5 separate regions of the Homo sapiens genome follow, and all the other regions are linked to region 2. Evidence: promoter capture Hi-C in 16 types of primary human blood cells and fetal thymus (Javierre and others, 2016). All regions are on one chromosome and are shown on one strand. The core of a region is centred on a gene start or on the middle of the fragment in contact, and the rest is flanking DNA. Distances in the headings are between cores, read along the strand shown.

Evidence for each region. Contacts are between HindIII fragments. The CHiCAGO score rates a contact against its expected background, and 5 or more counts as called.
Region 1: a contact is called between a fragment that was not itself captured here and the fragment with the promoter of FAXC in region 2, in 1 of 17 cell types (naive CD8 T cells). The highest score is 5.1, in naive CD8 T cells.
Region 3: a contact is called between a fragment that was not itself captured here and the fragment with the promoter of FAXC in region 2, in 1 of 17 cell types (erythroblasts). The highest score is 5.2, in erythroblasts.
Region 4: a contact is called between a fragment that was not itself captured here and the fragment with the promoter of FAXC in region 2, in 3 of 17 cell types (total CD8 T cells, naive CD4 T cells and total B cells). The highest score is 7.0, in total CD8 T cells.
Region 5: a fragment that was not itself captured here is called in contact with the fragment with the promoter of FAXC in region 2 in 1 of 17 cell types (naive CD8 T cells); the score reaches 5.3 in naive CD8 T cells.

The regions. Positions count from the first base shown.
Region 1 is chr6:99,788,309-99,794,204 of GRCh38, reverse strand. No RefSeq gene overlaps it. Among named protein-coding and RNA genes, the nearest start is that of PRDM13, 180 kb to the right of the region's middle. The HindIII fragment of the contact is 9,560 bases long and covers 1-5,896 here.
Region 2 is chr6:99,346,540-99,352,172 of GRCh38, reverse strand. FAXC (failed axon connections homolog, metaxin like GST domain containing) reads left to right here and starts at 2,499. Exons shown (of 6, transcript NM_032511.4): 1 at 2,499-3,066. The coding sequence starts at 2,801. RefSeq lists silencers at 2,150-2,229, 2,290-2,339, 2,410-2,469 and enhancers at 3,661-4,225, 5,116-5,616, 5,617-5,633. The HindIII fragment of the contact is 2,521 bases long and covers 1,735-4,255 here.
Region 3 is chr6:99,724,207-99,730,206 of GRCh38, reverse strand. No RefSeq gene overlaps it. Among named protein-coding and RNA genes, the nearest start is that of PRDM13, 120 kb to the right of the region's middle. The HindIII fragment of the contact is 1,751 bases long and covers 1,243-2,993 here.
Region 4 is chr6:99,762,964-99,768,529 of GRCh38, reverse strand. No RefSeq gene overlaps it. Among named protein-coding and RNA genes, the nearest start is that of PRDM13, 160 kb to the right of the region's middle. The HindIII fragment of the contact is 1,173 bases long and covers 2,296-3,468 here.
Region 5 is chr6:99,805,083-99,811,145 of GRCh38, reverse strand. No RefSeq gene overlaps it. Among named protein-coding and RNA genes, the nearest start is that of MCHR2-AS1, 190 kb to the left of the region's middle. The HindIII fragment of the contact is 1,715 bases long and covers 868-2,582 here.

The DNA of each region.
Region 1 (5,896 bases), core at 1,727-4,226, 440 kb before region 2:
AAGAAGAGCCTAAGTATGTATATTTTATTTTAAGAACTAGAAAAATGTGCAGATGCTACAAAACTGACTAAAAAATAGATGCTGTCACACAATATACCCATGTAACAAACCTGCACATGCACCCCCGAATCTAAAATAAAAGTTAAAATTTAAAAAAAAAAAGACAACCAAACAAAAACTAGATGCTAATCCCCCAATTTTGTTTAATCACTATACTTCCTGAATAATTATTAATTTATTTTCTTCTCTGGCCCACCTGGAAAGCCCTTTACTCTCCTTATGTAACATGAATCATGTTTTCTCCTGGCTCTTTGTCCTGCCAGCTTGTTCATTTTAACAAAGATGAGAAGACAAAGAACATTTTCTCTTAAATTTCATTTCATTTTCATTTTATTTGTGTGGTTCAATAAAAAAGGAAAAATGATTGGTGTTTGGGACTTCGTGAGAGAATGAACAGCTGGAGCAGAACATGATTCAGGGGCTTGAGAATCTATATCTCAGCCATCCTCCATCTGTCATCTGCCTAACTAGCTATACTCTATCCAGGTTACTCCCAAAATGTTTCTTTCCTCATCTATCTCCCACCAGAACATAAACTCCATGAAGAGAAGGACTTTTGTGTGCTTTGTTCACCATTTGTTCCCAGTCACTAGAACAACTTGTACTTGGAACACATGGATGCTTTTTAAATAAGTAATATTTGTTGAATAAGAAGTAAGTAGATACTTTCAGGATGTCATCAGAAGGAAATCTATCCCCAAGAAAAATTACTGCCATGGTAACCTCTGATGACCATGGATTTCTTTGTGTGCTTTGAAATTTCGCTTTGTGCTCTTATCTTGCATGAGGGTGTTTACCCCATTCAGGTGTTTCTCTTGGAGTGGTTTTGAGGTTGCCTCAGCCTGGCCCTCTGGGCTACCCAGACATTAACCAAGTTAGAGGGTTGGGGTTGTTGCCCCTTACAGGAAAGATAGTCTCAAAATCTCCACCCACAGGCAGCTCAAGCATCCTCCCCATTTTGACTCAAATGCCTGTCTTTCCCACTGGAGCTACCAGCATGGGTCTGTTTCTAGCTGCAACACAGGTAATGTGGCTTATACTCCTTGTCCAGTACTAACATCAGTTTGTCCCTACTCGCCACTATCCATTCCTGATCCACTGTTCTTCCTCTTGTTCTTAAGCTCATATATGTACTTTAAAATTTTTTTAAATACTTGTTTTCAATTATTCCTATGTCTCGGGAATAGAGTGGAGAAGATCATATGATATACCATCTTGAAGTCACCTTAAGTTTTTGAAACTCAAAAAATTGGGAAGGTAATTGATTCTCTTTTCTCTCTGAAATTATTTAATGAAAAATACCTACTTATATTGTCTATATTGGTCGGCTTTCTGAGAGGTAGATTTTTTTCTTTCCAGAAAACCATAATCAGTGGATTGTTCTAATGGTGAACTTTGTTTTCCTAAAATTAACTGTAGTTGATTCCTTATTTATTTGGTAAATACTTATATGACACTATGTGCCAGTCATTGTTCTAAGTATTTACAAAAATTAACTTATTTAAGGATAGTAGTAGATTGTGTTCAAAAATGGCTGCAACAGTTCCTCTCATCCCTGTATGGATATCCCTTTACAATTTGATGTCATCGTCCTTCCCATTAAGAACTAGCCTCTTTCTCCATCCCCTTAAATTGAGCCCCCTAGTAACTTGCTTTGACCAATTAAATGCAGCAGAAATTACAATATGTAACTTCCAAATCTATGCCTCCAGAGGCCTTACAGTGCCTGTTCTTGACCTTCTTACTCTCCTGAAATTGCCATATAAAGGAGCCTAGAGGCAAAACTTAAACTGGGCATGGTGGCTCATGCCTGTAATCCCAGCACTTTGAGAGGCCAAGGCAGGTGGATCACCTGAGGTCAGGAGGTCAAGACCAGCCTGGCCAATGTGACAAAACCCCATCTCTACTAAAAATAGAAAAATTAGCCAGGTGTGTTGGCGGGTTCCTGTAAGCCCAGCTACTTGGGAGGCTGAGGCAGGAGAATTGCTTGAACCCAGGAGACAGAGATTGCAGTGAGCTGAGATATTGCCCAGGCTGGAGTGCAATGGCGCTAAGAGTGAAACTCCGTCTCAAAAAACAAAAAAGAAAAAGAAAAAGAAAAGAAAAGAAACCACATGGAGAAAGAGACCCAACCAACAGCCAGCACCAATTGTCAGACATGTAAGAGAGACCATTGTGGGCCACCCAGCCCCAAATGTGGCCTGCAGCCACACAAATGCCCACAGTCAGACTAGCAGAACTGCCCAGCTGATCCTGGCTGAACAAATTGCCAGCATGGGATTATAAGTGATAATTAATGTAAGACTCTAAAATTTGGAGTGGTATGTTATGAAATATTAGATAATTGATATAATTGTTGTTATTCAAAGACTACATCAATTATTGCATTCCATATATCAATATTTTATTTAAAATTTTAGAACTATGTCCTAAATTAGATTGACACAGTTTTCTTTCTCATGATACAGCTTTGTTTAGTTCGATATTACATTTTATTAGACTTATAAAATCAGAGCGATAATATCTAACTTCTTCTATTCTATAAAACTGTTTAAGTAGCATAAAATTACCTATTTCTTTTTTTGTTTTGTTTTTTGTTTTTTTGGTTTTTTTTGAGATGGAGTCTCATTTTGTCACCCAGGCTGGAGGGCAGTGACCCGATCTCAGCTCACTGCAACCTCTGCCTCCTGGGTTCAAGCGATTCTCCTGCCTCCCAGATAGCTGGGATTACAGGTGCCCACCACCACGCCCAGCTAATTTTTGTGTTTTTAGTAGATACAGGTGTTCACCATGTTGGTCAGGCTGGTCTTGAACTCCTGGCCTCAAGTAATCCACCTGCCTCGGCCTCCCAAAGTGCTGGGGTTACAGGCATGAGCCACCATGCCCAGCCAAAATTACCTGTTTCTTAAAGATTTGTTAGAACTTATTCATAAAATTGTCTGAGCTTGGTGGCTTCATTCACCATAAATATCTTACTAGCTTTTCAATATGTTTTTAATGTATTATTTCCTTTTTAGTCTATTTATTCTATTTTATTTGTATATAGTTAACAGTGAGATTTTCCATTTCTTAACCTGTTGAAATACTATAAATATTGGGATTTTTATTGATTTAGGAAGTTAACAAAGAAAATCTAAAGCCATGACATTTTTCTTGTTATCAATTATCCTAATGCTGACTAAAATAATTTAAGCAACAGGGATATTTTAAATAATTTCATTGATGCTAATCAAAAGGTCTGTGTTATGCCATTTTAAAATACACCAGTAGGTGGAACTCTGATAATAACTAAATAATCTTTGTTAGTATTACCTGTCTCTGTTCCCTGCACTATTCTCATTTTGTATGTTGAAAAGAACAAAATACATGTATCCTGAAATCAAGGGGACATTATATAATAATTTATGGAAGTATATTATTCAGGTAGACATTAAAATGTAGTACTTAGAAAAATACCAAATATTCAACTAGATGAATAAAAAGAAAATATATCAACAAAAACTCTATTAATATATTTATGTACTTCAAATGGATACAATTTGTGTCTAAAAATAGGAAAATGATTAAATAAATTACAATATGTTTATACAGCAGAATATTAAAATATAAAGCATTAAAAATGATATAATTAAATACTTTTTAATGCTCAGTATAAAAATACAAAATTAATTTTATCTAATTTTTATAAAAATTACACATATACATAACATGGAAAGATAGCAACATATTGATATTATTTCTTGATGGTGATTTTCATCATCTTTTTGCACATTTTTTAACATCCAAATTCTCTTGAAGGGGACTGATTTGCTTTCATAATCAAAAGAAAATTTTTATTTACAATGTGATTGGCATTCTTCTTACAGTCATATCTCATTAGCAATATATAAATACCAAATTAATGAATGATATTGGGCAATGACCTTAAAATCCTGTCCTGGGATCTGCTTATTCATGGCAATATATAAGTTCAGACCCAAAGGGGGTGAAAAAGAGAGACCCAAAGAAGGGCAGATGGCTGTGGAAAGGGATAGAAAGATGCTTAATCACCCCTCCCTCTTTCCTCCTTTAATATGGTTCACTTGTCCCTCAAAACACATGAATGCATTTGTACGTGCCCACAGCCTTAATGATGGGAGGAGACTTTCCCAGGTTTCTCCCTGCAGGTGGGAAGACAGAAAGCTCTGTGGCCTGAGCACCAGGGCTGTGGCTGGCCCCAGAGCAAGAGATAGAGGGGATCCCAAAACCTTCTATTACAGAATCTGTCTGGGAGCCACCACAGCCTTTCAACAGCTGGTTGAGCTGCATTGAAAAGATCAAGATTACTGAGGATATTTATATCACTTTGATGGATACTTTTGTTAAAAAGACATATTATGTAGAAGGGCTTGGTCAGAAATCATTGCATTTTTGTTTTGTGTAGGACTTTATCCTTTGCCACTTTGAGGCAGGCACTCTGGTTTTTCTTGAGAGCAGGTGCTCTGGGCTCTGCTCCCTGGGCTGGTGGGAATGAAATGAGGACACCACAGGACAGCACACTGGTTCCCAGAGGAGACGGGAGGTAAAAGACTGAGAGGATGAGAATGAGCGAAGGACAAGCACTCCACACAACTCCAGTGGGAAGGTGGCCAGGGCAAGAGCATGGGCAGCAGCATAATGTCTGTCATTTTATATTTTTAGTCACTTTTTTAAAAGTATAATTTACATAGAATAAAATTCATCAATTTTAAGGTTACATTTGATGAGTTTTGACCATTTCCATCATTTCTGAAGGGTGCCACTTCAGAAACACCCCCTCATGCCACTTTGCAATCACTCTCCCTTGTATTTTACATTTTAGATGGACACAATGATGACACATCCCAAAAAGAAAACTATGACTCAAGGTTGACAAGAACAAAGGTAGTCATGGGAGTAATACGATATGTGAACTTGAGACTGTCCCCAAAACCTGGGCCATCAGGATATCATACATATGAAGACTAGGTGGTTTTAAGTCTGGAAAAGTAGAGAAATAGTGACAGTAGGAGAAAGTGAATCCTGCCCTGGGATCTGCTTGTTTATAATTACAAAGGCCATTAACAAGCAGATCCCAGGGCAGGATTTTAAGAAGGTCATAAAGGAGATGGGAGCGGAAGGGAAAAGTGAATAAAACGGAGGCTGGAGAGAGTGGTGGTGGCGGGAGCAGGAAGAGAATAGGCCAGAACAGTACTACCTACTTTTAATTTTAATTTTTTGTTTCTACCTTTTCTGAAATAATCCAAATAGTGAGATTGATATGGGGAAGACACTGAAAATAAAGCAAAAAAAAAAAAACTAGGCTGAGCACAGTGACTCACACCTGTAATCCCAGAATGTTGGGAGACCAAGGCAAGAGGATCTCTTGAAGATAAGAGTTCGAGGATGCAGTGAGCTATGATCATGCCACTGCAATCCAGGGCAACAGAGCAAGCCCGTATCTCTAAAACAGGGTTTAAAAACGAAAATAACTGAGGTAAGAAGGAGGAGAAATGAAGGGGAAAATCCATTATTTCTTGGTTGTTCTCATTAAAATCCTGAGTTAATCTATTTCCCATGCACGTCTAGTAAGGTGATGTTTTGAAATACTCAGTTTTTGCTTTGGAGCCTCTTTCCCAGTGGTTCTCATTCTTTCTTGTGTGCATGTGTGGCAAACTTTCAAATACCAGGATTTTAGTCAGCACACCAGAAAGGACGAATCTGTTCCCACTGTGCTCACCACGGGCTCAGGCCACCCACAACACGCAGACACATGTTTTTGTGTGAAAGTCGGCTGCCTGCCCTCACTCGGACCCCAGGCTTCTACATCCTCTAGAGG
Region 2 (5,633 bases), core at 1,250-3,749:
CTGCTTCCCAGGTTCAAGTGATTCTCCTGCCTCAGACTCCCAGGTAGCTGGGGTTACAGGTGCTCGACACCATGCCTAGCTAATTTTTGTATTTTTTTTTTAGTAGAGACACAGTTTCACCATGTTGGCCAGGCTGGTCTCAAACTCTTGACCTCAAGTGATCTGCCCACCTCCCAAAGTGCTGGGATTACAGGCATGAGCCACCCCACCATGCCCGGCCTGTTCTGACATTCTGATACCAAATATTTGTCCAACTCAGATTTGTTGTCTCCTCAGTCTACTCTTCCTCTTTTCATCTTATACAGCCCTAACAATAATCATCTTTTCTCTTCTATGCCATGGATCTAAAAGTTAAAATTTAAGATGCATCAGATTAAGATGACATTTTAGTTTCTCTTGTGGAATTTTATTTTATTTTTATTTTTATTTTTATTGAGACGGTGTCTCGCTCTTGTTACCCAGGCTGGGGTGCAATGGCACAATCTCTCCTCACTGAGACCTCCGCCTCCTGGGTTCAAGCAATTCTCCTGCCTTAGCCTTCCGAGTAGCTGGAATTACAGGTGCTCGTCACCACTCCCGGCTAATTTTTTGTATTTTCAGTAGAGACGGGGTTTCGCCATGTTGGCCAGGCTGATCTCGAACTCGTGACCTTAGGTGATCCACCCACCTTGGCCTCCCAAAGTGTTGGGATTACATGTGTGAGCCACCTGTGCCCAGCCCACATCTGCTTCTTAAAGATGTTCACTGCAGTGTCTCTAAAAATGTAAACCATATTTGAACCAGAGACCAGATGATGCTCAACAGTTGTCTGACACTACCAGGAAGCAGCAGTGGGCCCCTGGCCTGCATGAGTGGGTGGGGCAGGTCACTATGAGTGAGAGTGAATTGTAGTCAGTGGCTTTCTGGGATAAAAATACTACACTTCCTCTGGGTTCTAACTTGTTTTGGGCATAAGGTTTGTCAGGATTGACTCTCCCTTTTGCCTTCCATATTCTTCCACTTAAGGTAATTTATGCCCATCCCCATGTCTAGACCTAGATATGCAAATAATGTGATCCCAAATATCAAACTTATATTCTTTAAATATTGGCTCAGTGTTCACTGAGAGCAAAGACTGAGTGCTCTGTGGGAAGGGCACAGAAGGAGCATGGAGAATCCCTGGTGCCAGCCCTCCTTGTTCCCTCTTCCAGAGCACTGCAGCTTTGGTCCCAGACTTAACTACTCTGCTTCTTGCCGACAAGGCCAGGCAGCCTTCTGGCCTCTCTCCTTGAAAGACCGGCTGGTGACCACCTCAGTCACCCCAGGAGGCCGTTGGGTTTCACTCCTTGCAACCTACTTATGGGAGCCTCACTTAGAACCACACACATTACTTCTTCCTGGGAGGTCACATTTTCCCAGGAGTGTTTGGGGAGTCTCACATGCTGGTGCCTAGGCATCAGCTGACTAGCCCCTCCCCCCGTCTCGTTGAGGCGACACGTCCATATTTATTATTTATTAACAAGACGACCACACTCCTTGCCTGTTCTAAGGGGCGGGTGTGTCAGGAGAGGAAAAAAAGGGGGAGTCCTTTTGCGCCTCAATCTCTGCTCCATAGGCAAGAGCCTGGAGGTTTCTTTTACCCATCCTTCCACCTTGAGAGTGATGAACCTCCACGGCCCGAATCCTTTTTCAGTTCTTCCAAACAATTTAAAACTATCCATGCTCTTGTTAAAATCTGTGCATATATTACAAGCTTCTATTCTTTGTACTTATGAACTTTAATAAATGAAGTTAAAGGAAAAAAATACACTGAACACACACACAGTTGTTAGACAGATTTTCTAAAACAAAAGAGGGACCCCCGTCCCCCAACCGAAACCCTGTATCAGCGAGTTCCCTGATAGTGACTTCAAAGAGGAAAGACTTGAACTGGGTTTGTCAGAGAAATCTCTCTAGGTAGAGTATTTTGTTATTTGCCAAACCAGACATCTCGTCTCTGCGAACACCTGGTCAAGCCCGAGGTAATTGTGTAATGTAATAAGAGTGTTTTTATACATTATGCAAATACGCAGCGCTTTCCTGATGGCCAGAACAATCTGATTCCCGACTTTAATCCTGGCCCACGCTCCCAGCCCCCGCCTGGTGGCGTCTCCTGCCCGCAGCTCCGCGCCGCCCCAGGTGAGTCCTGCGCGTTCCCTACTCTGGGGCCCGCGGGAGGGGCTGGAGCGCAGGCGGAGGGCCGGCCGGGGTAGGGGAGGACCGGGATCCGGGCCCCGACTGCAGCTTCCTCGCGGTGGGGCCGCATTTCCAGGCACCTCCGCCGCCCTTGCCCGCGCGCGGCGAGCGGTTTTTGGGCGTGCCGCCCGGAGGCGCGGAGCCTGCCCGGCGCGCCTCAGCCCTGCAGATCCGGCCCCGGCGGAGGCGGCCGGACCGCGGAGATGCGGGGAGGGGGCAGGGCGCGGGGTAGGTGACTTTATCCCGCCTCTGTTTCCCTGCCCCGGGGAGCAATGACATCACGCGGCCTTCTCCAGGCGCCGACACAAAGAGCGGGGCGGAGAGGCAGCTGCGGGGGGAGCCGGCGGCCGCTGCTGCCGCCCAGGGCTCTGGGGCCCCGCCGGCCAGGCCCGCCGTCCGCGGCCAGTGCCCTTCCTCCTCCTCCTCCTCTGCCGCCGCCTCCTCAGTCGCCGCCGCCTCCTCAGTCGCCGCCGCCCGCGCCGCCCGCGCCCTCCGCGCGCCTCTGAGCCCGCGCCGGGCCGCGCCGGCCCCTTCCCATGCGGGCGGCGCGGGCCCTGGGAGGGGCGCCCGGAGCCAGCCGCGCAGCATGCACTGGGGGGTTGGCTTTGCTTCGTCCAGGCCGTGCGTGGTGGATCTGAGCTGGAACCAGAGCATCTCCTTCTTCGGCTGGTGGGCCGGGTCCGAGGAGCCCTTCTCCTTTTATGGGGACATCATCGCTTTCCCTTTGCAGGATTACGGTGGGATCATGGCAGGGCTGGGCTCCGATCCCTGGTGGAAGAAAACCCTTTACTTGACCGGGGGAGCTTTGCTGGCCGCAGCTGCGTATCTGCTCCACGAACTCCTGGTCATTAGGTGAGCCGGAGAGAGGGCCCCGCACAGGGGCGCAGAGAGGGGCACCTGGCTAGGGCAGGGCTGGCGCGAGAGGGGCCCGTGCCAGCCCCTCGGTCAAGCTGCCCAGATGCCCAAGCGCCCTGCAATTACCTTTCCCTAAAGGCATTTGTGGTCACCTGGCCGTGAGGGGCAGTTTAGAGTTGAAAGGAGAATTAAACCGGTGCTGGGAGGGAAAAACATTTGTCTCCCAAAATGCTCTGGGTCACTTGTCGTTATCTATTAAGAAATGGCCTTAGGAGGATCTAAGTGCAGTGTGTTTGCAACAATAGAATTGGGCCCTGCAGAAATAGGTTACACTTTTATGAAATGCCTTGTTTATAAGTAATAATGCTGGAATATTAACTGCTAACCTTATCTTTTACCTAAAGGTTAGTTCTTCCCTAAATGTCAACATCAAAAGACTGAAAAATTGCAAAAGCTCCAGAAACCTGCGGGTCCCTGTTAAAGATGCATGACCAAGTGTAGTGGTGGGCAGCTTTGATGCAGCCTTAACCTGGTTCTCTGCTTATCTGGTATTGAACGCCAAGCACCATCTTCAGGCTTAGATGTCATTGTTGTGTGAGCAGTAGGACAGGCTAGCACATGGGTGTGTTGGGCACAACACGGAGTCGCCCAGTGCCGTAAACAGTTGCATCCGCTGCCGCAGAATGTTTACAAGATTGAGTTGGAAATACCAGAAAATGGAGGCCCCTGCTGTTGGTACATCCAGCCGGGACGAGATTTTTGTTTGGGTAGAGTAATACCACAGGGCACTGAGACAGTCGTTTGGCTAATTGATACATCAATTAATGGTTAAAATTTCCATGCATTTGAGCCTTCCGTCACTGGAAGATTACCAGAAGCCCAGTTTTCAATAGCTCAGAATGTCTCTTTGCCAGTATTTTCTAAAGTGAGAGAAATGTGTCCACACTGCCTTATTCCAGTGGAGGAATCCTACACAATAGGTTATAAACAAAGACAGTGATAGGTGACCTGTACTAGCCTGCAGGGATCCCAGGAGATTATTGTGATGGCCTAATGTAGGCATTTGGCCTAACGTACATATTTTGAATAGTTCCCATCTCTGAAAGGGTGGGAAATCATTTAGGTTTGGAGAAATGTATTGGTTTTCATATTATTTAGCCATATTTGAGGAAGTTTATTTTAAGCTTGTTGCACATTTAATTCTCTCAACACATTGCCTTGAATCTAGCTGAACCAAACAAAAAAATTTAAAGAGAATTATCTCTCTAGATTATTTGTTAATTGTGCTAGTTTTAGAACTGTATTTCAAGTTAGATTTCAAGCTACCTAAAGAACTAAAACATTTGGGCAGTAATTTAAATGGTAACCCAGTTGTTTCTCAGTTGTATTCTAGTCTAAAGCCTTTGAGGAGATCCCAAACCATGAGGCTTCTCAGCAGTGGAGGGAGTGAAGGCTTCACAGGACCAAGTTTAAAACAAAGCTTAAATGACCTTGCAGAAACAGTGTGGAGCTCAGCTGCCACTCCGGAGTAGGCCCTGCCCTGGCAGGTGTTGTCACTGGAGACTGGAGAGCTCTCTGCCCACAGATAGCTACTAACTCATTTAGGGGACTATATACCTCAGCACTGGATGCTTATTTGGACTAAGGAGTTTAATCCTAGGTTGATTCACACTTTTTCTTCCTTTTTTTTTTTTTTTCTTTTGAGACTGAGTCTCGCTTTGTCGCCCATGTTGGAGTGCAGTGGCTCGATCTCAGCTCATTGCAACCTCCACCTCCCTGGTTCAAATGATTCTCCTGGCTCAGCCTCCTGAGTAGCTGGGATTACAGGCGTGCACCACCGCGTCTGGATAATTTTTGTATTTTTAGTAGAGATAGGGTTTCACCGTGTTGGCCAGGCTGCTCTTGAACTCCTGGGATCAAGCGATCCTCTGGCCTCAGTCTGCTGAGTTGCTGGGATTACAGGCATGAACCATTGCACTTGGCTAATTTTTTTTTTAACTTTTTTGTGGAGATGGGGTCTCACTATGTTGCCCAGGCTTGTCTCAAACTCCTGGCCTCAAGAAATCCTCCCTCCTTGGCCTCCCAAAGTGTTGGGTTTATAGGTGTGAGCCACCATACTTGGCCAGTTTTGTTTCTGGACAAATGTTTGAGTTGAATTAGAAAGCTCTGAAGTAATGCAAACAATAAAAAAGGGCTATTTCTGAATACTTAGTAGGATGGGCTTTGCATGTGTGACTGCATTTATTCCTCACAACTGTTGTTTGTTCATTTCATAGATAAGGAAATTGCAGCTCAGGGAGGTTAAGCAGCTTGCCCAAGATCACACAGTAAGAGTAGTAGGATCTAGATTCAAATCAGAGCCTGCAGTTTTTAACCACTGCCTCTTAGAAAGTACCTACTTTGGCCCGGCGCGCGGCAGCTTACGCCTGTAATCCCAGCACTTTGGGAGGCTGACGCGGGCGGATCACGAGGTCAAGAGATCGAGACCATCTGGCCAACATTGTGAAACCCCGTCTACTAAAAAACAAACAAAAAAACCCCACAAAAATTAGCCTGGCGTGGTG
Region 3 (6,000 bases), core at 869-3,368, 380 kb before region 2:
AAATGACGAGTTAATGAGTGCAGCACACCAACATGGCATATGTATACATATGTAACAAACCTGCACGTTGTGCACATGTACCCTAAAACTAAAAGTATAATAATAATAAAATTTAAAAAAAAGGAAACAACTTCATTTATAATAGACCCAACAAAACTAAAATATCTAGGACTAAACTTAACCAAGGAGGTGAAAGATCTCTACACTGAAGACAATAAAACATTGATAAAAGATATTGAAGAAGACACAAAAATGAAAAGATATCCTGTGTTCATGGATCAGAAGACTTAATATGGTTTAAATGACCATACTACACAAGACAATCTATAGATTTAATGCAATCTCTATTAAAATACCAATGACATTCTTCACAGAAAGAGAAAAAACAATTCTAAAATTCATAGACAGGCACGGTGGCTCACGCCTGTAATCCCAGCACTTTGGGAGGCCAAGGCAGGTGGATCACAAGGTCAGGAGTTTGAGACCAGCCTGGTCAATATGGTGAAACCCCGTCTCTACTAAAAATACAAAAAAAAAAAATAGCTATGCATGGTGGTGCATGCCTGTAATCCCCAGCTACTCAGGAGGCTGAGGCAGGAGAATTGCTTGAACCCGGGAGGCGGAGGTTGCAGTGAACCAAGATCGTGCCACTGCACTCCAGCCTGGGAGACAGAGTGAGATTCTATCTCAAAAGGTAATAATAATGAAATAAAATAATAAAGTAAAATTCATGTGGAACCACAAAGACCCCAAATAGCCAATGCAATCCTGAGTAAAAATAACAAAGCTAGAGGCATCATACTACCTGCCTCCAAATTATACTATAAAACTATAGTAACCAAAACAATGTGCTACTGGCATAAAAACAGACACATAGACAAGGGAAACAGAATACAAAGCCCAGAAACAACTTCATGCTTCTATGGCCAATTGAGTTTCAACAAACGTGCCAAGAATGCATGTTGAAGAAAAGACAGTCTCTTCAATAAGAGTGCTGGGAAAATTCCATACCTACATGCAGAAGAATGAGACTAGACTTCTACCTCTCACCACAGACAAAAATCAACTCAAAATGGATTAAAGACTTAAATGTAAAAACCCAAACTGCAAAACTCTTAGAAGGAAACACAGGAGAAATGCTTCATGAGATTGGGCTTGGCAAAGATTTCTTAAATAAGGCCTCAAAAGCACAGCAACAAAAGCAAAAAATAGACAAATGGGATTATATCAAACTAAAAAGCTTCTACACAGCAAAGCAACCAATTAACAGACTGAAGAGACAACTTACAGAATGGGAGAAAATATTTGCAAACTGTACTCCCAACAAGAGGTTAATATCCGAAATATATTTTTAAAACTTCAATATGGCTGGGCACAATGGCTCATGCCTATAATTCCAGCAGTTTGGGAGGCAACAAAGGGAGACCCCATTTGTACAAAAAATAAAACTAAATGAATTATCCAGGCACTATGGCATGTGCCTGTAGCCCCAGTGACTCAGGAGACCGAAACAGGAGGATCACTTGAGCCCAGGAGTTCAAGGCTACAGTGAGCTATGATTGCACCACTGCACTCCAGCCTGGGCAACAGAGTGAAATTTTGTCTCTAAATAAATAAATAAAAAGAAAATAACTCAATAGCAATAATAATAATAATGGTCTGACTTTAAAAATGGGCAAAAGACCTTAACAGATGTTCTGAAATAAAAAAGATGCACAAGGCTGGGCACAATGGCTCGCACATGTAATCCCAGCACTTTGGGAGGTCAAGGCAGGAAGATTGCTTGCACTCAGGAATTTGACACCAGCCTGGGCAACAAAGTAAAACCTTGCCTCTACAAAAAACTTAAAAAATTAGCCAGGTGTGGTGGTATGTGCCTATGACTACTTGATAAACTGAGGTGGGAGGATCACTTGAGCCCAGGAGGTCAAGGCTTCAGTCATTCATGTTCATGCCACTGCACTCCAGCCTGGGCAACAGAGACGTTGTCTCAAAAAAAAAAAAAAAAAGATACACAAATGCCATGATGGGTGTATGAAAAAAAAATGTTCAACAATACTAATCACCAGGAAAATGTAAATCAAAATCACAATGAGATATTTTCTCACTCCAGTTAGAACAGTTACTATAAAAAGACAAAAGAAAACAAGTGTTGGGAAGGATGTGGAGAAAAGGGAACTCTTATGCACTGTTGGTGGGATTATAAATGACTACAGCCATTATGGAAAACATTATGGAGGTTCCTCAAAAAATTAAAAATAGAATAATAAAGAATAATAAAACATGTATTCTTGGCACGTTTGTTGAAACTTAATTGGCCATAGAACCATATAATCCAGCAATCCCACTGCTAAATACATATTCAAAGGAAATGAAATCAGTATGTTGAAGAGATATCTGCAGTCCATGTTTATTGCGGCACTATTTACAATAGCCAAGATATGGAATCAATCTAAGTTTCCTACAATGAATGAATAGATATATATTTATATCCCATTTTCTTTATCCATTCATTCTTTTTATGGCTTAATAGTATACCATTATATATAATGCATATATATAATGGATATAGTATATTCATTCAATGAATTGTATACCATTATATATATATATAATTCCACATAATATTATATATATAATGGTATACTATTCAGCCATAAAAAATAATGAAATCCCGTCATTTTGACTACATGAATGAAACTGGAAGACACCATATTAAGTGAAATAAGCCAGATACAGAAAGACAAATACTGCATGATCTCATTATTATGTGGAACATAATAAAACAATGTTGAAATCATAGAAGTAGAGAGTAGAATAGTGATTATCAGAGACTGTGAAGATGTGGGGGGAAAAGAGGATGGCGAGAGGTGGATCAATAGGTGCAAAGTTACATTAAATAGGAGGAATTAGTTCTGGGTTCTATTGCACAGTAGAGGAACTACGGTTAACAGTAAGGTATTGTATATGACAAAATAGCTAGAGGATAAGCTTCTGAATGTTTTCAGCATAAAGAGTTGATAAATGCATGAGATGATGAATATGCTAACTACCCTGATTTTATCGTTATACTACATATACATGTATCAAAACATCAAACTGTACTCCATAAATATGTACAATTATAATGTGTCCATTTAAAAAAAAATAAAATATTGTCCTCAGAAACCTGTTGTACTCAGAAAGGAGGGATCTTTGCTCGCTATTGTTCACATTTATGACTATAAGCATATTCTTCAGAATCAGTTTGATTGTCACTCAGGAAAGCAGAAAGAGGCCATTAGGAGAGCATGTGCAGAAAAAAGGGCTGCTTGATGAAGCCAGGCCAGCAGACACCTGGGCAGCAGGGATGCCGCCTGGGCCTTCTAGACTGCAGAAAGGAAAAGACTGACTACAACTGGCCCTGCTTCACCAGTCTCCTCCTTACTGCTGTGGAAGATGTAAGCTGATTGAAAACGAGGAAGGTAAAAAGGGAATTGGAAAATGGGAAAAATCTCCACGCCTGTACCCAGATTTTCATCTTACAGCAGCCTGTACAGCAAGTCTACCTTACACATAAGTAAAATATGTACCAACTACAACTGTGCTTCCCAGTCAACAGTTTTCAAATCCCTAAAAGCTTAAAGGCAATAGTAGCATCAATTCTGTTTCTATTTTTCAAGAATAACAATGCATGAAATATCTACATCATTTTCCCAGTGAAACTGAATGGTGTGAGAGCGTGGGGGTTTATGTCAAATGAGCAAGATCAATAGCGAATACTGTTGCTGAAGTCCTAGTTACCTCATCATTTATCATTTAGCTAAAACCAATAGCTACCTTGAGGATTTGACTATTATGCAACTTTGGGTGTTTTCATTCTTATTCAGGTATTATTTAATTTATAACTAAATACTAGTCATTAAAAAAAAGAATTAGGAACAAGATGGTGGAATGGAAGACTCCACCAATTGTGTCCCCCACTGCAAGGACACCAATCTAACAGCTATCTACACAACAAAACACTTTCATAAGAAACAAAAATCAGGTGAGCACTCACAGTACCTAGTTTTAACTTTGTGAAAGAGACACTGAAGAGATAGAAAAAAACAGGCTTGAATCACCAATGCCATCCCTCCCTGAGCAGTGGCGTGGGGTGGAGAGCAGTTCTGTTTGCTGGGGGAGGGAGAGCTGGCAGTTGTGAGACACTGAACTCAGTGTTGTCCTGTTATAGCAGAAAGGAACACCAGACCAAACTCAACTGATGCCCCCCCAAGGAGAGACTATTTAAACCAGCTCTACCCAGGGTGCATTCATTGATCCCAGTGGTTGGAACTTGAATTCCCACAAGCATCACCACCTGCAAGCCTTGCCACCACAGGCTAAAGTGCCCTGGGGCTCTAAATAAATTTGAAAGGCAATCTAGGCCACAAGGACTACAACACCTAGGTGAATCCTAGGGCTTAACCAGGCCCAGAGACAGTGGACTGGTGGGGCACATGACCTACTGAGACACCAGCTGGGGCAGCTAAGGGAGTGCTGGCACCACCCCTCCGCTAACCCTAGGCTGCAAATCTCCTAACTCCAAAAGATACCTCTTCCTTCACACCTGAGGAAAGGAGAGGCAAGAATGGGCCACATCTTGGATACCAGCTCAGCCACAGGAGAATAGGGCATGGGGCAGAGTCACGAGGCCTCATTTCCAGGCCCTACCTCCCAGACATTTCTAGACACACCTTGGGCTAGAAGGGAATCTGCTCCTTGAAGGGAAGGACCCAGTGCTGGCAACATTTATCACCTGCTAACCAAAGAGCCCTCAGACCCTAAATAAACAGCAGCAATACCCAGGTACTACATTGAGGGGCTGAGGTGAGCCTCTGAGACTTGCTGGCTTCAGGTGAGACACAGCATATTATGAGCTGAGTGTCCACGGGCCAAAACTCCTTTTGCTTCAGAAAAGCAGAGGGAAAAGTAAGGGGGACTTTGTCTTGGATCTTAGGTATCAGCCCAGCCATGGGAGTTAGAGCACCAAGCAGTCTCTTGGCATCCCAGATTCTAGGATTTCGCTCTTGAACAGCATTTCTGGACCTGCCATGGGCCAGAGGGGAGCCCCCTGCCCCAAAATGTGAGTACCAGGCCAGGGAGTATTCACCACAAGCTGACCTAACAGCCCTCGGTCCTTAAGGGAACATTGGCAGCAGTCTGCTGGTACTCCCTGTGGCCTTTGGTGGTGGTGCCCATACAGTGAGGCTCCTCTGCCTTTGGAAAGGGGAGGAAAGGGTGGGAAGGATTACATCTTCTGGTTTGAGTACCAGCTCAATTGTAGTACAATAGAACACTAGGTAGGCTTCTAAGGTTTTTGACTGTAGTCCCTGGCTCCAGGATGACACTTCTAGACTTGCCTGGGGTCTTGGGGAACTCACTACCCTGGAGGAAAGGACACAGGCCTGGCTGGCTTTACTACCTGATGATTTTAGAGCCCCACAGCTTGAGTGAACATAGGCAGTAGCAAAGGAGTAGTTACAGCAGGCCTTGGGCAAGACCCAGTGCTGCAGTGGCTTCAGGTCAGACCCAGTGCAGTCATAGGTGGTGGCCACAGATATGCTTGTGTCACTACACCCCCAGGTTCAAGTGGCTCAGAACAGAGACAGATTCTGTTTGTATGAGAGATAGTAACGGAAAATAAAAAGTTTCTGCCTGGTAATCCAGAGAATTTTGTCAGATCTTGCCCAAGACCATCAAGGCAGTACCTCTACGAGTCTGCAAGAACCACAGTGTTACTGGGTTCTGGGTGCTCCCTAATGCAGATACAGCTTACACAACAGCCAAGTTATTCTGAATATCTGGAAAGCTTTCCCAAGAAGGATGAGTACAAAGAAGCCCAGACTATGAAGACTACAATAAATATCTAACTCCTCAATGCCCAGACACTGAATAACATCTACAAGTATTAAAACAATCCAGAAAAGTATGACCTCACTAGATGAACTAAATAAGTTACCAGGGACCAATCCTGGAGAG
Region 4 (5,566 bases), core at 1,633-4,132, 420 kb before region 2:
GGAAAATCAACTGCCTTTATATACACAGGTTTATCTTGTTTCATTGCACTTTATTGCACTTCGCAGATATTGCATTTTTTTTACAAATTGAAGGTTTGTGGCAACCCTCCACTGAGCAAGTCTATCAACATTTTTTAAGAGCATGTGTTCACTTCATATCTCTGTGTCAGCATTTCTTAGCAATAAAGTATTTTAAAATTAAACTATGTACACTGTTTTTAAACATAATGCTATTGCACACTTAATAGACTATAGTATAAATGTAACTTTTATATGCACTTGCAAACCAAATAATTTGTGTGACTTGCTTTATTGCAATATTGGCTTTATTGTGATGGTATGGAACTGAACCTACAATATCTCCAAGGTTTGCCTGTACTAGCAAAATAAATAATTGAGAAATTTAAACTAAAATATACCTCCATTTACAAAGCCATTAAAATATGAAATATTAAAGGATAAAACTGACAAACGTGGTGCAAAACCTGTTCATTTAAAACTACAAATATTGCTCAGAGACATTAAAGAAGGCCTAAATGAAGAATTAAGCCATATTCATGGGTTAATTCTTAAAAATACTCAATATTGTTAAGCTGTCAATTTTTCCCAAATTGATCTATAGATTTAACACAGTCTTAACCAAAATCTGAGGGACTTTTTTTTTGCAGAAATTGACAAGCTCAATCTAAAATATATATGGAAATGCAAAATACACAGAATTTATGCAAATTACATGCAAAATATATAGAATACAGGTTTTAGCTAAACAGCTTTGAAAACGAACAATATTGGAGAACTAATATGACCAATTTCAAGACTTACTACAACAATAGCCAAAATAGTGTAAAGATAGACAAATAGACCAATGAAATAAAATAGACCTATGCCTATGTGAACAATTAATTTTTTACAAAAATGCCAGAAAAATGCAGTGGTAAAAGGATAGTCCTTTCAACAAATGGTAATAGAACAATTGGATATCTGCATGCAAAAAATAAAATTTAATCCATATTTATTCATACCTCACAACATATAGGTGCTTAAGTCTCTTACAGATTATAGACCTAAATACAAAAACCTTAAACTGTAAAATTTCTACTAAAAATAAAAAATGGGAAAAATCATGTGACCTTAGTCTGGGCATTTTTTAAATAAAACACCAAAACCATGATCCATAAAAGAAAAATGGACAAACTGGACTTCGTCAAAATTAAAAACTTCAAAAAATGTCAAGAGAATGAAAAGAAGAGCTACAGACTGGGAGAATATATTTGGAAAATACATATCTAATGAATGATTTATATTGAGAACAAATAACTCTCCAAACTTAATAATAAGAATATAAACAACTGAATTTTTAAATGGCCAAAAGATTTTAACACTTCACCAAAGAAAGACATATAGATGGCAACTAAGCTCATGTTTAACAAATTAGACATGAAGGAAATTCAAATTAAAACCACATGAGATATCACTATATACCTATTAGAATAGTTAAAATTAAAAAGACCATGTCAAATATTGGAAAAGACATGGAAATTTTCATATACTACTGTCAAGAATGTAAAATGGTACAACCACTTTGGAAAACAGTTTCTTTAAAAGCTAAACACCACCTTCCATATGATCCAGAAATTTTACTTCTAGGTTATTTACCCAAGAGAAAAGGAGTATATACAAAGACTTGCACATGAATATTCACAGCAGTTTTATTTGTAATAGACCAAAACTGGAAACAAGTCAAATGTCTATCAATAAGTAAATGAACAAATTATTATATATCTATAAAACAAAATACTACTCAGCAATAAAAAGAATGACCTTTTGATACATACAATGAAGTGGATGAATTTTAATATAATTATGCTGAGTGAAAGAAGCCAGAAAAAGAGTACTGTATGATTCCATTCATATAAGTTCTAGGGAACTATATAGGCACAAATATCTACACTGACAGAAAGTGATGAGTTGTTGCCTCAGCATGGAGCTTGGGCAGGGAAAGGTGAAGGGGAGGGATAACAAGCAGCATGAGGAAACTTTTTGGGGTGAGGGACATATTAATTAGCATGATTATAATGATGTTTCACAGGTTTGTACACAGCTCAAAATTTATCAACTTATACGGTTAATATGTGCAGTTAATTTTATGCCAATTACACCTCAATAAAGTTATGAAACTTATATTTAGCTAATATCTTAAGGAGCACTCTGTACTTAGGTCAAGGTCCATCTTACTATTGGCAGATGTGAATCCATATTTCAAACTGTTCTTTATAATTATGTATTTTATAAGCTTCTTGGGAGTTTTATTATTATGAAAATATTATGAGGTTTATTAGCATAATTTTTATATTATAATAAGCCTGGCAAAGAACTTCAAGTGTGAGTGAGAGAAGCATCATTTCCTCCACTAGACCACTTGGGCTGTGGCCTGTATCACATGTACTTTTCAGAGCTCCACAATGAAGGGGCAGCAGCTACCTACTCAAAGGAAGCTCTTCTGAGCACAACAGCAGAGACATACAAGGGCATTTCAAACCCTTTTTTTGTGTCATATCAGCTAACATCTCATTGGCCAAAGCCAGTCATGCTGAGCCCAAAGTCAAGAAATGGGGAAGGACATTTCTCCTATGGCACTGGTGGACATGGAGTGGACATTTTTGAATTACTGTAATAGTTATCTACTAAAGTCCAACCTCTTTTTCATGTGTTTTATGCTCTTCCCACATATGAAATACATTCCGCAACATCCAAGACCTTCCAAGATTTCATCAAAATTACAACATCAGGCTCAGAAATAAAGATTTACATCATCAGTTGCAGTTTCTCTTGCTCTGGAGAGCTATGAATTACAAAGACGAGTTTTCTTTTTCACACACTTTATATACAATAGAAGACCTACATACCACATGAATCCTCCCAACCATTTTGAAACAGGAAGAGTAGAAAGTACATAGCAATCACTAGACAATAAAAATTCTGACATACCACTTGGCGAATGTCTGGTTTACTTATCTTGAAGGTTGAGAATATTTCTCGATTAGACTCAATTCTGCCTCTGAGTGGCTCCTTAGTCTTTTGTTTTCTATGGCACTGACAGACAGTCCATTCTTTTCCATATCCTCCTTGGAAAATCCTGAGTAGGGAACTGGAGAATATGTACTTTTTGAGCAGCTGAGCATCCTGCTTGTAGAATGCTGGGGACACATCTCTAACAGTATTGGCTTCTTTTAGTCCAGAGACTACTAACATGATTTTGCTAATACAAATATCTCAGAAATACTGTGGGTTTTCTATATATTTGATTCCATTCAACTCCATGTGCCAAAAGGATTGTGTGAATTCACAGTCCTTTTCAAGATGGATATTTCTCCCTCTAAACCTAATGTTTTGTACTCTGGGCACATCAGGCTGATATAGCACCATACTCTTACATATTTTAGAAGCCCTTTTGTCTTAATAAAAGCTTCTACTGATCTAATTAAACTAAAGAGCTTCTGCACAGCAAAAGAAGCTACCATCAGAGTGAACAGGCAACTTAAGAATGGGAGAAAATTTTTACAATGTACCCATCTGACAAAGGGCTAATATCCAGAATCTACAAAGAACTTAAACAAATTTACACAAAAAAATCAAACAACCCCATCAAAAAGTAGGCAAAGGATATGAACAGACACTTCTCAAAAGAAAACATTTATGCAGCCAACAGACACATGAAAAAATGCTCATCATCACTGGCCATCAGAGAAATGCAAATCAAAACCACAATGAGATACCATCTCACACCAGTTAGAATGGTGATCATTAAAAAGTCAGGAAAACAGGTGCTGGAGAGGATGTGGAGAAATAGGAATGCTTTTACACTGTTGGTGGGACTGTAAACTAGTTCAACCATTGTGGAAGACAGTGTGGCGATTCCTCAGGGATCTAGAACTAGAAATACCATTTGGCCCAGCCATCCCATTACTGGGTATATACCCAAAGGAGTATGAATCATGCTGCCTTAAAGACACATGCACACATATGTTTACTGCGGCACTATTCACAATAGCAAAGACTTGGAAGCAACCCAAACGTCCAACAATGATAGACTGGATTGAGAAAATGTGGCACATATACACCATGGAATACTATGCAACCATAAAAAAGGATGAGTTCATGTCCTTTGTAGGGACATGGATGAAGCTGGAAACCACCATTCTCAGCAAACTATCGCAAGGACAAAAAACCAAACACCATATGTTCTCACTCATAGGTGGGAATTGAACAATGAGAACACTTGGACACAGGGTGGGGAACATCACACACCGGGGCCTGTCCTGGGGTGGCGGGAGGGGGAAGGGATAGCATTAGGAGATATATCTAATGTAAATGATGAGTTAATGGGTGCAGCACACCAACATAGCACATGTATACATATGTAACAAACCTGCACGTTGTGCACATGTACCCTAGAACTTAAAGTATAATTTTAAAAAAAAGAAAAATGCAAAATTCAGTCAAGTGGAGCATACAGACAAATAAACAAATGATTTCAAAAAAAAAAAAAGCATCTACTAGAACAGTGCTTCTCAAAATAGTTGTGTTAAAGAATCAGGGTTTTTTTCTGTAATTTACTATAACTGATACTTTTGTAAACTATGATAAAATATGACAGTAATGTCAAATTTCTATGAAACTCTCCAATACTTCTTCTTCTTAGCTTGATCTAGCCCCTGCCTACTTTGGCAACCTCAGCCTTACTGTTTCCTCCTAGCTCACTATGCTCCAGCCATAGGGGCCTTACATTCTGTTCCTTAAACACACCAAATCATTTCTGCCTCAAGATTTTTACACTAGCCATCTCCTAAAATTTAGACATTCTTACCCCCAATTTTTGCCTGTCTAGCTCCTTTTTGCAATTCAAGTCTCAGATTAACTATCATCTCCTCAAAGAGGCTCTTTCTAACCTTTGTAAATTTGCCTCACTCACTCCCTATCATATCATTCCACTATATTTTATTTACAGTACTTGTCACTAGCAGATATTTCTTATATGTTTGTTTGTAGCATTTATTATTTCTGTCTCCTTAACTGTCTCCTCCCACTATGATCTGTGAAAGGAAAAACCATGTCTTTCTTATGTACTCCTGTATCCTAGCAGTTATATCCATAACCAACATCCTCATGATTAAATAAATTAAATGACAAACAAGAGTCTAACATATATGTATACACACATACATAAATAGTTGAAGGTAATCAGCATAGGTATTAACTGAAGTAATTAGTATGAGTAAGAGTTCTCCAAAAAAGATATAAAATTGAGACCAAATCCTAGAATAAAATCCTGGGAAATACCAACATCTATTCCCAGGTGCAGGGATTAAAAAGGGAGCCAACGAAGGAACTTGTGAAAAAATAAGAATGGTCAAAAAGAAACACTGGTAAGTTGTGTTCCAGAAACTAAAGAGAGTTTTAAGAATCAAAGGGTAATCAAAAATGTCAAATGCTATGGAATACTCAAACAGGATAGAGCAAGAGCAGACACAATTGGTCCTGGAAATCAGGTAGACACTGAAAAAGT
Region 5 (6,063 bases), core at 476-2,975, 460 kb before region 2:
AGTAAGCACACTGTGCATGTGGCCCCTCCCAAGTGCTGGCAGGCCACTGCACATGCAGACAGCTCGCTCCAAGGGAAGAATCAAGGGAGAAGAAACATAAACCCTGGAACCATGCCAATGTACAAAACCCCAAGTCAAGGGCCAGACAGGACACTTGCATCTCTTAAGTCACCTTCTTGACCCTCTTCCAAGTGTACTTTACTTCCTTTTGTTCCTGCTCTAAAACTTTTTGATAAACTCACTCCTGCTCTAAAATTTGCTTAGGTCTCTCTCTCTACCTGAAACCTACTTCTGCTCCTCAGCCAAATTATTTCCTCCAAGGAGGCAAGGGTCAGGTTTGCGGCAGACCTGTCAGATTCGCCACTGGTAACAGGCTCGGGCTGTGGAAGAACTTTAATCCCAGAAGTTTGGATTTTATTCTTCAGGCAGTGAGAATTCCCTGAAGAGCAAGCAATGGGGTCTGAGTAGAAGTTTTATGAAAATAAATCTGAAAACAGCATATGGTACAGAAAGCAAGAGTGGGGAACAAATTTATCTATAGATACAGGATGAGCTAGAAATCTAGCTGCAAAAGCTTATAGTAGAAAAATGGAAGGTTGTGAAAGACAGCACAAATGAACAGACAGGAGGCAACGTATGTGAGAGATGTTGCACAATAGAATAAACCAGGATGCAACAAGTGGTTGAGGTGACAGGTAAGAGATACAGACAAGTTAAAGAGGATGGCTTGATTTCTAGCTGGATGATGAGGTTGGTGATACAATTAACAGAAATAATCTCAGAGGGGAGGGAAGAAGATAATATGAACAAGTCATGTTCAGGGACTCAAATGTAAAACATCCTAGAATGGGCTTCTCAATAAAAGCTTCAGGAGATTTAGGAACACCCAAAGGGAATGAATACACACACACACACACACACACACACACACACACACACACACGCACACACACACAAAATCTGTCATCAAACTCTCAATCACATCTGAACTTTCCCCCAGCTTTTTAGCTTGGTTCTATTCTTCTAAATGGATAGAGCCTTTATATTGAGGAGTGAGTGGTTAGAAGTAAATTTGAAAAATTTGATGGCCTGTGAAGGAACTTAAAATCTAGATGAGGGGTCTTGCAGAAAAATGGGGGAAGTGGCATTTTTTAAATTGAGGCAAGAAACAATGAAAGTGATGTTTTAGCAGATTGATTTGAAATAAAAAGCAGAACTATTTGAAGAAAGAGACCAGAAATAGAAAGACCAGGTAAGAAGGCATTAGGACAATCCAGGTAATGAGCGAGCCCTGGGGAGAACAGAGAAAAACAACCTGGAAACAATCAAGGCAGATGTACAAGGACTGAGTGACCAGTTGAACATGGGAGTGAAGAGAAAGGTAAGCCTGACCTTGGTGATTGTGGTGCTGTTTGCAGAAACATGGACTTTAGGGAGAGACCGTTCTTACTGAAGAGCTATGCTACATGTGCTCAGTTGAAAGCAGTGCTGGGATGTGCAAGCAAACATGTTCAGGTCATCAAAGGAGTTAAAGAGTTATGCCCAGGAAAGAGTTCAGAACCAGAGACAAATTCAGGCATCATCAGCACCAATAAAACCCTAAAAGAGCAGTCGTGAGAATATGATCGTTGAAAAAAAAAAAAAAAAAAGCTAAACCTTGAATCAGAATAAAAAGAAAACTATCAGAACATATAAATTGAAACAAAATGGTAGAAACAATCTAGGTTTTGGTCCATGACCTTTCACTAAATAAAGACCACAATCTTGGGATCCATTCAGTGCTAACAACCTCATTTTAGAGAGGAAAATAACATGCCTAAGCTAGTATGAAAACAGCACAAAGGCACATTTTTTTTTTTATTGATGTCTTGGAACCTTGGAAAAAGCACAACTCATCTGAAAGCCTTGACTCTCTGTAAACAGTAGTGTGTCCCTTTGGAGTTGGGTGTGCCTCTGAATTACACACATTTCCCTCAAGCTGGGCATACACTGTCACTATCCATAGCTCTACCAGGAAGAAAGAATGGTTTGAAGTGATCAAAAGACAAGGGGCAAGCCTGCTTTTGCCCCTTGCCTCTCAGCCTTCCCTTCCTAACCCCATACCTCCCATCCTCTCTCTGCGGTGTCCATTCTAGCACCATTGTCCATCCGTGTTATCTGACAATCCGTAACAGCCCCCACTCCAACCCAGCTGTCAGGAAACAACAAACCCAGTTTACCAAGCACCTGAAAGAGAGCACACTTCAGAAATTCCTAGAGAAGATGGGTAGAGAGGCACAGGAGTCATTTAAGGCTGCTGCAGCCATAACCCACATTTACCAACAGAACTGGTAGAAATGAAAGTCAAACTTGCTTTGTCCTTAGTCCATGGATTCTTTCTAAATATAGAACCTGCTGTAGAAACAAGGGATTGGGGAAGAGAGGGAGGGAAGGACTCAGAGATCGAGAGTGCTTGGGAAAAAGAGGGAAAAAAACTACTTTCATTTTTCCTGTGAAAAATAGAAGACACGTGGCAGATAGAATTCTCATCCAATTCATTGATCTTAGCTCTTCAGAGATTCTTTCAGAAGTAATTAGAAGCTTTTTTCTTGTCCAACAATTCTGTACTCAAGGAGAGCCATTTCCTAAGTGAAATAAGCTTATTTTTTGAAGAAGCTTATTTAGCATTTTTAGATAACTTTAGGTTGAAGAAGCCTATTGGACAAGATGTTCTATTTTAAATCCCATGAGGAAACATAACTGTTTGTTTGAAGATGGCTTGTTTGTTGTTTTCTATATAAAATTGGGCAAGAGGCTCTTTAAATTTTTTATAAATACATAAATAAAACATGGATTTCATGTCCTTTGGAAAGCAACATTTGTATATTTATATGGAGTTTCACTAAATATGAAACAAAAGTCTGCTATTTCTAAGGCATTTACATTCATGGATATTGTATTATTATATATTCATATACAATACAATTCACAGAAATACAAATTGCTGAAATCTTGTTGGGAGTGAATTCCATTTTAAATTCTAAGTACATGTTATGCTAACCTAGCATCTCACCAGTAGTCACCTACCACTAGATGGGAAGCACTGGAGAAGCAGAACAGCCACATACTCTAAAAGTATGAAAGAAATGGCAAAGTCAGTCTGGTATTGGTCCGTGCATTAGCCAGGGCCATCAGGAGACAAAAACACACCAGAAAGTTTAGTTGGGAGAATTTAACATAAAGAATAGTTAGCCAGGTATTGGAGAATTGGAAATGAAAAGGGGGCCATACTGAGGTATCACAGAGATAGTAACTACAATGAGTAGCTACCACCCCAAGGACTGTGGGAACAAAGGGAATGGAATGGAATTAAGAAAATGTAGAAGCTTGAAGGAGGGACCCTCAAGGAGCTGGCATGCAGATCTCTGAGGAGGGAAAGCTGGCATTTCGGGGCAGGAGAGGGTGGGGACAGGTGTTTAGGCTGGTTCTGAAAGTACTGCTGTAATGGAACAACCGTCAAGGCCAGTATGAAGAACCATCACTGTGGTGACACTGAAAGGAACAGGAAGAAACAGGTCCCTACTTTCAGACTCTTTGAGTGGCCCCCTGTGCCAGTATGTAACAGAGGCTAGCACAGGAGAAAAGTTTGCAGGGATTCAGCCCAGCATCATAAAGCGGAATATAAAAGAGTGGGGTTAAAAGTACAGTAGCAATAAACCAGTGTGGTCCACATTTTAAAAGGGTCTCATATGATTAACATTGTTTCCTCTGCTTACAGAGAGAGTCTCTAATGCAATTGTCTTATTTCACCAAAACAAGTGCACCCTCCTCTGCAAAAGCAGCACAGGAAAGGGAATAAAGGAAAATGAGATAATTGGCCTTACTGGAAATAGAAGAGGTGTCCTGGTATTGGATCAGATATAAAGCGCAACATTGTGCTCATCTTTAACATCCTCCTTAGGCTTTTCAGTATAATTTTGTGTCTCAGGTTAGGAAAAGCCCAGTATTTTAGATTTTCATTGGCATTTGGCTATTTATAAAAACTAGTTTTCAAGGTACAGAAAAAGAATGTTCCTTGTTCTCAAGAATGACCACTATCACCCCATATTTTTTTGTAACTACTTGTTGATGAAAAGACGTAGATATTGTTGACTGGGCTGCAGCCATCAGTGACAGCTCCTACCTAGTTATTCCTACAGGTAGAATTTTTTGTTACCCAAGAGGATGAAAGTTCTAAAACCCTGACATGTTATCCCAAACCTACTCACAAAAACTTATAATGAATAAAGTTCCTTTAAAAAACTTTGTCTATTGTATATAATGGCATCAAAAGATACTACTAATATTTTAAGTGAGAAAAAAGCAACATGTACAATACAATCTCATTTTTGTGCAAATACATATAGAAAAAAGGGTCAGAAGGAAATATACCAAAATCTCTCTAGTGCTTATACCAATGTGTGGGATTATATTTACTTTTACTTTTATCATGTCTTATTTATATTTTGTATGTAACAACATAATAATAATATTAATAGCTATTATTTGTGAAGTGTAGTGCTGCTGCTGAGACTGCTTGGGTCTTAGTAGCACCATTTTACATGGAAGGAAATGAAAACATGAACAGTAATTTGCCCTGACTCCTTTAGCAGGTGGGAACAGAAGGGGATCCCAACCCCAGTCTGTCAGCCTCACAAGTCTGGAGAGGGAAATAGTTATTTTTAAAAACTGATTATAGTCAAACCTTTAGTTAAATGCAATAGACTGTTTTCTTTATTTACTACTTTTTAATGAATGTACATTGATTCAAAATTATTAGGTTTCCTACTAATTTATCCAGTCTGGCTCCTGTAAATTTCCACATTAGACTATATTAGATATATTTACCTTATGTTAAACCCTGAAAGTAGGCTTTCTTTATGCTTGGAAGCTATTTTCAAAGCCAGCTTGTGCTGCTAATGAAGCTGATAGCTGGAGAGACGTTTGTTTCGTTCTACCAAGAATTCCCTGATTCCCGCTGAGATGCTGAACACAGTCTAAGGCAGAAGACAGCTGAGGATCAAAGGATAAATCTTTATAATCTAATCTATAATAATTGACTTGTTAAGAAATTATCTCACAACTCAGAATATTAAATTGATTATAATAAACATCTGCAACTTTCCCACCACCTCTCCTCTCAATTCAGCCCTCTGTCCAGGTTGTACGGGGTTCATGAATTTTTATTTTAATGATACATGTGCTAAGGGCTTTTAACCTGGTCAGAAGCATATAAATTAACATGAATTGGTTCAAAACAAAAACACTGGCTTTTTTATAGCCTTCTTCATTAACTCCTGACTAGTTCAAGTTAATAACATAATACAAAATACATCTACAGTTCTTTGCAGACATCAAATAGATTGGGGAAAAATAGTAAATTAGCATGCCTAAAGAGTCTCATATCTAGCCATACAGAAATGAATAGAAGCAGTTTGAAAATAAGAAGAAAGCAATAACTAGGAAATGAAACTCTGAACATTCTCTGTGCTCATTCTCAATGAGAATTGATGGGAATGAATACTGCACCGTACTTTAGCCCCAGTTAATAGATGAACCTGCTTTCATCTCACTGTTAGAGGGACAGTGACTTCTTTTTTCTGATTCACTAGTGGCATGAAAATGTCTAACTGCATTTTACCTCTTTATCTTTTCAAGAGCTTAAATAAAATGCTCCATTGGCTGAGGCCTCTTTGCAACATTAAGGTATACTCCTTAAGAAATTGTTTAAGAAACTCTTTGAAAATCTTGATTTACATTTGAAGGAAGAAACTAAGCCATAGCAAAGTTTGTTAATGGTAATCACTAGCCAGCTATTCGTGAAAGAGATGTGATCTAGCCATCATTCGTTGCTGATTTACACTAGATCTGAGACTCAACTGCAGCTGTCCTCCAGCTCAAAGGATGAACCTTTACCCTTTCTGTAGATGAGAATATGTTTCCCTATTATGCTGATTCAGAGGGTTTAAGTCTAACTTAAGGCTTTACTCACATCATGGACTGTACAATAAATGTATAATCTTGTTGTGCTATTGAGAATAGGTG